Linked DNA regions of Homo sapiens: region 2 is linked to region 1. The links are contacts of gene promoters, found by promoter capture Hi-C in human tissues and cell types (Jung and others, 2019). All regions are on one chromosome and are shown on one strand. Each heading gives the region's core, a stretch centred on a gene start or on the middle of the fragment in contact. The rest is flanking DNA. Distances are from core to core; before and after follow the strand shown.

Region 1 (3,823 bases), core at 246-2,745:
CACATTCCTCCAGGTGCTGCCAGCACCCCACTCCCTCCAGCTTTCTGACTCCGACAGCCTGGCCTGCTGATAGCGACAGCCGCAGCCCAGACACACACACACACTCCAGCCCAACACCTGCGTCTCAGCAAGGGACCAAGGCAGTGCCCTCCAGCCGCAGCTGCTGGGTGGGAGGAGTCCAGGGGGAAGGGGCACAGCACAGAGCCCTGAGCTGCAGAAAGTGCCGAGTACCACGTTCCTCCCCAGCTGAGTGCACGGTCAGCACCACTGTCCCCTTCTCGTCTCCCTCCTTGGGCACGCCTGACACACCATGGCCTGTGGCCTCTGTTTTGGACACAAGCTCCCCGAGTGTGCATGCACACGCGCGCGCGCGCACACACACACACACACATCAGCTCCCTTCCCTCCAAACATTCCGAGGAAATCCTGCCAGGCCACTGACAGTGTGCGTGTGTGCGCTTGTGTGTATACAGACAGAGAGCAGGGTCCACCCCATGTCCACACACACACGCACACACCACACACACACAGCACGCACAATCCTCTCCACATGCACACGGCGCCCCACCAGCCAACACACCCACCCCCTCCCCGTCCCCTGACAGCTGCTGGAGCCCACACACGCACGCACACACACACACTGGCACGCGCTCGCACACACACACAAACACACACACACACACACACCCGGCAGTGGCCCCGGCCCTGCCAGAGCTGCAGTGTCTGCGATTTATGCCGCCTCCCTGGGCTGCCTCCCTCCTTGTCCCTGGCCAGCGCCTCTGAAAGGGTCCCCACCCCCCAATTCTGGTCTTACCAACCCCACCGCCGTCAAGCCCCACCCTGGCCCCCCTTCCCCTAGAAGGCATCCACCCCGTCAACCCCTCTTACCAGCTAGAGGATGAATGCCTTGACCCGGCAGCACCCCGTGAAAGAGAGGGGTTAGGGCCCCCGATTCGAAAAGATGAGGGCAGAGAGGTGCAGTGTGGCACCGGCTGGCACACCGTCCACCATCGAGCCTCTGCACCACCCCCAGAAACGCTCACCTCACCGACCGTCCTCGGTGTCCTCCCACCGCCTCCGCCCACCGCCACCACCACCACCTCCCTCGCGCAGGGTGGTCCCCCGGGGGTCTCACGGGGATCCCCAGACCCAGGAGACACTGGGGGTGGCTCTCCCCGTCTCATCCCCCCTTCCGTGTCCCTCTCCAAGCCCCACCCCCACTGACGGAGGGGGTGCCCTCCGGCTCCAGCCCCGACTCCCACCGTCTCCCCGGTCGGTCGGTCGCGGCGCTCGGATCCAGAGGAATTCACTTACCCCAGCCCCAGCCGGGATCCGGGCCAAGCACCGCCTCCGGGAAGCGGCGGCCGCGGGGCCTGCGCGTGTGAGTGTGAGTGTGAATGTGAGTGTGAGCGCGGGTGTGGGTGCGGGGTGCGTGGCCGTGGGGTGGCCCGCGTGTGTCTGTGTGTGTGTCTGGGAGCGCGCGTGTGCGCGCAGACGCCGCCGCCCCCTCCTCCCCGCCGCCGCGCCTCTGCCCCTGCCTCGGCGGGGAGGGCGCCCGGGAGGGGCCAAGCGGCGCGCGTCAGGGACCGCGGCAGGCTGTGTCCGTCTGTCCGTCCCCGTCTGTCCGTCCGCCAGCCCGCCCGCTCCCGGTGCCCTCCGCAGGCCTTTCCGCAGCAAGCCCGCTCCCGCCCCCGAGCCGGCCGCACGCTCCACGGACACACGCGCGCTCGCAGACACACGCCCGCGGGGCTGGGGCCGCGCCTGGCGCCGCCGCTGCAGCTGCAGCGCCCGGGGAGGCGAAGGCGGCCCCACGGACCCGAGCCCCGGCCTGGCGGACCCCTGTCCCGGCCGCGGCCCCCTGCGCTGCTCACCCCGCGGGATCCGGGTCCGGGTCCGGGTCCGGCCTCCGCCAGCGCATTCAACAGCTGGGGGCAAACTTGCGGCGGGGCCGCCCGAAGTGCGCCTGGACTCGCCCTCCCCCTGGACTCCGCCTCCGCTGATGGGCCCCCTCTCCGCCTTGTACCTCCATGCCCTGCCGCCTGCGCCCTGCTGGTTGGTCCCGCGTTCAACCGCTGGCGACTGGGGAAGTGCGGCTGCTGCGTTCCCATTTTACAGGCCAGACAACTGAGGTTCGGAGAGGAGTGATTCCCCCAAGGTTACACAGGGAGCCTACAGACAGTATTAGACTTTACGCTCCCCTACCTTGTGCCAGGGCACTCACTGCCTTTCCCCACCCCTCCAGGAGTAGGTCCAAGGGATACTGGGCTCATCTGTAGCTAGAGAACCTTCATTAGCCTTCCAGAGGCCCAGTTCCCCGCCCCTTACGCCAAAGCCCCTGCCACCTGCTGCCACCTGCAAAGGGGTGGATGCTGGGAGGAGGAGGAGGAGGTGGAAGATGCAAGAAGCCTGGCACCCGGGGCCTATAACTTGGTGCTTGGGCATGCAAGCACCTCCTCCCGAGGCCCTGCGAGCTGCATGTCGGAGGCCTGCTGCCAGCAGGCCCTGTACTTCTCCATCACTTTTATAGGACCGCATGCACCAGCGCCTGTTCTCAGGTGTTGCACAGCAGATGAAGTCCAGGCTGCGGGAACTCCCCGTCGGGACATCTCATGCAGGTCTGGAATAAGGAGACTCCCCAGAAGAAGCCACTGCCTGAGCTGAATCTTGATGGATGAGTAGGAGTTGGCCAGCTAAAGAAGGAGGAGAAGGGTGTCCTGGACTCTGGGAACAGCATGTGCAAAGAGGCACAGAGGCATGAAACAGCTTTGTATGTGTGTACAGGGAACTCCACGGAGTTGGGTATTAGTAGAGCAGAAAGAACGTCTGTCCAGAAATTCCTCCCTCCTTTCAACTAAGAACAGGGAACGGCCCAGGATGGGGCTGGGAGGGCAGACAAGCACTGGGTCACAGGCCACTTGTTGTCCTGGGGTATGCAGAAGGACTATTGGGCGTTCCCCACCTGCACCCCAGGCTGCCTGGCACACTCCTACCCATCCTTCAAGGTCCCTCGCTGCAAACCCAAACAAGCCATGTGCTGTCTCTGCCCTCTAAACTGAGCCCTCCTACAGGGCAGGGGCGGTATCCAACACATGGTGTGTATCCCTGACAAGGCTGGGCAAGAAGCAGGGTCCCAGCTCCAAGACCTTGCTGGAAGAGCCCCTCAGGCGGAACATAACGGCCTCTGCGCCCTCTGGCGGATCCCTCGAGAAATTAGAGTGCTCCCCAAGCCAACAGCCCCCCTGTGGCTCTCAGGCCCAGACACTTTCTGAGATGGGCACTGGCAGATGCCACCTAATCCGCTCCTGCCCAAGAAACTGAGCAGTGATGACCCCAAAGAATACCAGGGAGTCAGTGGCAAAACAGCCTCTTGCTGCTCTGTTTCCGAGACATTCCCAGTCATCTTCCAGAGTGCAAGTCACAACCCTCTCTGAGCCTGTTTCCTCCTTTGTGAAAGAAATATAGCAAAAGCAGCCAGTACCCCCAGCACAGTGCCGGCCACTCCCTTCTCCCTGGAGACCTCCAGGTCTGGCTGGATTTGGTCAGAATTTGTTTGAAGCTCTAAAACGGTCTAAGAATCTCCCTTTGGAGACTTTGCCCTTACTGGGCAGATGTACATTGACAAGAGTTTCAGCTCTTAGCTGACTTTCTGCCACCATATAGAAGATAGAGTTGGCCTGGCCTGAGGGTCATAGTGGACCACACCATCTAGACACTCGACTGGGCTTTCTCTAGACCATAGTGGAAAGGATACATGTCTGCACTGTCAAAGACAGTAGCCACTAACTGCATGTGGCTATTGAGTGATTGGAATTGTGGCTAATGT
Region 2 (4,015 bases), core at 339-2,838, 320 kb before region 1:
GAAATTTTAACAATGGGATGGTAGCAAACATTTATGGATTAAGAGCAGCCAGCCGGCACCAAGAGCCCTCGTGGACCTTGAGCCCTGTCAGTGCTTGTTCACGGCCAGGCGTCCCCACACTCTTCCTTCTGCCTGGGCCCCCACCTCCCAACCTGGCCAGCTCTTATGCAGCCCCTGTCACCTCAGTTCAGACCTCACCTCTTCGCAGCTCTCCCAGAGTGCCCTAGAAGGGGCGGCTGCCCCTCGCGATGTGCAGCTTACCTGTGGGCACTCTCTCTTTGCCCCTCACATTGAACTCCTGGAAGCGGGGACTGTGCTCCAATTGCCACAGGGGCCTGAAGCAGTCCCCCAGCTCTGAGCACCATGGACCCCACCCTGGCACCTGCTCCTCACTCCCTCCTGCCCTTCTGGCCATTGGAGGGTCTCGGGTCTGCCTGCTGGAGGCTGAGCTCCTTGGGGCGGGGCCGCGACTCCCCCAGCAATGCAGATCCGGATTCAACCACTGCGTATGAACTCCTACCATGTGCCAGCCCTGTGCTGGGCAGTGCTGCAAACTCCACTGCAGCCTCCAACAGCCTGGGGTGCCTACTTTGCTGACTCTATTTAATGGCTGGGGAAACTGAGGTAGAGAGAGGTAACATGACTTACCCGAGGTCCCTCAGCCAGGGCAGAGCAGAGCAGAGCAGGGACTCTGGGCTAGGGCCATAGGGGCATCTTTCAGTGAAACCATTAGGCCCTAGAGTCCTGAGAGTGTGGGGGACTGGGTGGGGGTCCCTTCCACACATATAAACACACTCACAGACCCACAGATGTACACAGATGGAGACACGCGGAGGGATATACGCACATCTATTCATGACACAAAAATTCATAGATGCACGCCCTTCCTACACAGACACACACACGAACACACATACACATACATGCCAACTCTGAGCCTGTGAGCCCAGGGTCCTGGGCTTAAGTCAGTACATAGGTGCAATGTGGGGCTCCGGGCCTGTCTCCTACACCAGAAGGCCCAGGTGGGGTACCGGGTGTGGAGGGGGCAGCATGTCCAGTCCTGCGAGGCAGGGGTAGGGTGGCCTCTCCCTTCCTCCTGTCCCTGCCACCTGAATCCCAGGCCACCAACCACCCAGCACTGATGCTGTGCCTGTCCACACACCTGGTGTCACCCTGCGTGGTCCCTCCCCTCCCCAGCTCTGTGGGCCCCTCACCTTCTGCTCACTGATCACCCTCTGGCCGATGAGGCCCTGCAGGCCTGGCCTCGGAGCAGGGTAGGTGGCTCAGGCTGCAGGGAGCCAGGCCCAGCTCTTAGGGTGGACACTGTCACTAGGTCATTTATAGATCCCGGTCCCCTGTCCTGGAGGCCCCCGCTTACCTTTGGGAGCGGCAGATAGGTGCCGGGCCTGCACACAGGCCTCAGGAGCCTCTGTTTGTCCAGGCCAAGGCCTCCCCACCCCCACCCAGCCAGCCCAGGCTGGATCAATGGCCTAGAGCCATGACCAGGGTGTCTGGCCCTTGTCCCCTGTGGCCTGTGGCCTCAGGCTCCATGGAACTCCTCCTGCTGGGTCCTGGACAGCACTGTGACTAAGTACAGGTAAACAGGCAGGAGGTAGGAGAAGGCAGTGCCTGCCCCGCCCCATCTTCCCCCACCCCCGCATGGGCACCCCAGAGGCTGGCAGGCAGGTGCGGGAGATCTGAGCTCTCCCCCGAGGCCCGTTGCCTGGTGACATGCCTGCCTGGTTACAGCCCCTGGTCCCCGAGAGCATGAGGTAGGGACAGCCAAGGACTGGGGACTGTGCAGAGGCCGGTGCAGGTGAGTGCAGGGGCTCACAAGGGTGAGTCCAGGTGCTTACCTGGACAGGCGAGACTAAAGGAGCTGCTGGCCTGAGAGAGAGAAAAGGAGGCTGGGCCCATATACTCTGGGGACTGGAGAGGAGAAAGGGGAGGCAGGGGTGGGGTTTGATGCTATTTTCTGTTTAGCTGGGAATTATTTGAATTCCTACCTCGTTCTTTTTTTTTTTTTTTTTTTTTTTTAAGATGGAGTCTCACTCCGTCACCCAGGCTAGAGTGCAGTGGTGTGATTTCGGCTCACTGCAACCTCCGCCTCCCGGGTTCAAGCAATTCTCCTGCCTCAGCCTCCCAGGTAGCTGGGATTACAGCGCCCACCACCATGCCCGGCTAATTTTCATAATTTTAGAAGAGATGGGGTTTCACCATGTTAGCCAGGCTGGTCTCGAACTCCTGACCTCAAGTGATTCCACCCACCTCGACCTCCCAAAACGCTAGGATTACAGGCATGAGCGACCGCACGCAGCATGAATTCCTACCTGGTTCCGTAGCGCTGTGCTGTCCATGACGGTAGCCGCTGGTCACCCGTGGCTCTTGAGTCAGTCTGAACTGAGAAAAGCTGCACGGGGGAGACGCACACCAGGTTTCCAAGGCCAAGTGCAAACAGGATGTCAACCAACGCGATAACAATTTTTATATTGATTTTATGTTGAAATAACACTGGTGATCATGGGATAAATAAAATGTATTATTAAAAGCAATTTTCTTCTGGCTCTCTTGTTTTTTTTTTTTTCAGAGACAGGGTCTCATTAGGTTGCCAGGCTGGTCTGGAGCTCCTGGGCCCACATGATCCTCCTGCTTCAGCCTCCCAAGTAGCTGGGATTACAGGCGCGGGCCACCACACCCCTTGTTGCATGTGGATATTAGACAGGTTAAGTCACAAGTGTGACCTGCGTTGTTGTTCTATGGAACAGCGTTGCTGTGGAGATGGGTTTGAGCCATATGCGTGCCGAAGTGCCGGATGGGAGCCAGGGCTTTCTAGGGTGCGTGCAGGGCAGCGGGCGTCTGTCTCAGACAAGGCTGACTTTCAGCGAGTCTACATCCTGAGGCCAGAATGCGGGGTGCACGCCTGAGATGCTGTGTGCTGTGGGCATATGGGTCCCAGAGTGTGTGTGTAAGAGAGACAGTCTGGAATTTGTGTGTGTAGATTATGTATGTGTAGAATGTGCGTGTGTGTGTGTGTGTGTGTGTGTGGAGCGTAGGGATTGTGTGTGGGGTATAAGATTTGTGTGAGAGGTGTGTCTGTGAGGTTTGTATGGTGTGGGGTGGGGGGTGTGTGAAGTGTGTTGTGTGGGCATATGGACTGTGCATGTGTGTGCAGTGTGGGTGCTGGGAATGTGCAGTGTAAGGTGTGTGTGTCTTTGAGGTACGTATGGTGTGAGGTGTGTATGGAGCATGAGAGGTGTGTGCAGCTGTGTGTGTGTGTGTGTGCATGCTCACAGTATGTGTGGAATATGAGGCATGTGTTTAGTGTGAGGTGTGTGCATAGTGTGAGGTGTGTGTGTAGTGTAAGGTGTATGTAGTGTGAAGCATGTGTGGAGTGTGAAGCGTGTGTGTAGTGTGAGACGTGTGTGGAGTGTGAGGTGTGTGTGGAGCGTGAGGCATGTGTGGAGTGTGAGGCGTGTGAGTGGAGTGTGCAGCGGGTGTGAAGTGTGAGATGCTTATGGATTGGCTGGGATGGGACAGGGCCCCGCGCCCGGGCTTTGCCGTGACCGCCGGTTTTCAGCCCTACCTGGCTCCCTTTTAGTTGTAGGAACCTGGGCAGATTCCCTGACTTCTGAGCGGTGCTTCTTCCATCTGTCGAATGAAAAAAATTCGCCCCTTCTTGATGAACGGGAAACAACGTGTGCGAAGGCCCAGCACTGTGGGGGGCGCCGAGAGCGGGTTTCTCCTCTTCTCATGGTGACACGCTGGTGTGTCGGGGCCAGGTGTGCCTGTGCACTGAAGTCCAGGCAATGACAGGTGGCATGTGTGTGGTGCCTACCTGTGTGGCCCCTCACGCATGTCTCAAGCACGTAGATGCCCCATGCTCTCTGGCGTGTGCTCCCTAAGGGGGCCTGTAGCAGTAGGCAGGTACCTCCCTGACATGTGCGTGGGGGGCACCCCTGTGTCCTAAGGTGTGAAGGCCCCTGCCCATGGGGGCTGGGCATGAGCTCAGTACAGC

The links. The method cuts DNA at HindIII sites, captures the fragments that hold promoters and counts their contacts. A contact is called where the count stands out against the background at its distance.
Region 2: the fragment with the promoter of TMPRSS6 here is called in contact with the fragment with the promoter of ELFN2 in region 1 in 4 of the 25 tissues and cell types used here (H1 embryonic stem cells, mesendoderm cells, small bowel and 1 more).

Annotation. Positions count from the first base shown.
Region 1 is chr22:37,425,984-37,429,806 of GRCh38, forward strand. ELFN2 (extracellular leucine rich repeat and fibronectin type III domain containing 2) reads right to left here and starts at 1,496. Exons shown (of 3, transcript NM_052906.5): 1 at 1,315-1,496. The HindIII fragment of the contact is 24,898 bases long and covers 1-3,823 here.
Region 2 is chr22:37,108,125-37,112,139 of GRCh38, forward strand. It overlaps TMPRSS6 (transmembrane serine protease 6), which reads right to left and starts at 1,589. Exons shown (of 18, transcript NM_001374504.1): 1 at 1,379-1,589. RefSeq lists an enhancer at 1-320. The HindIII fragment of the contact is 35,568 bases long and covers 1-4,015 here.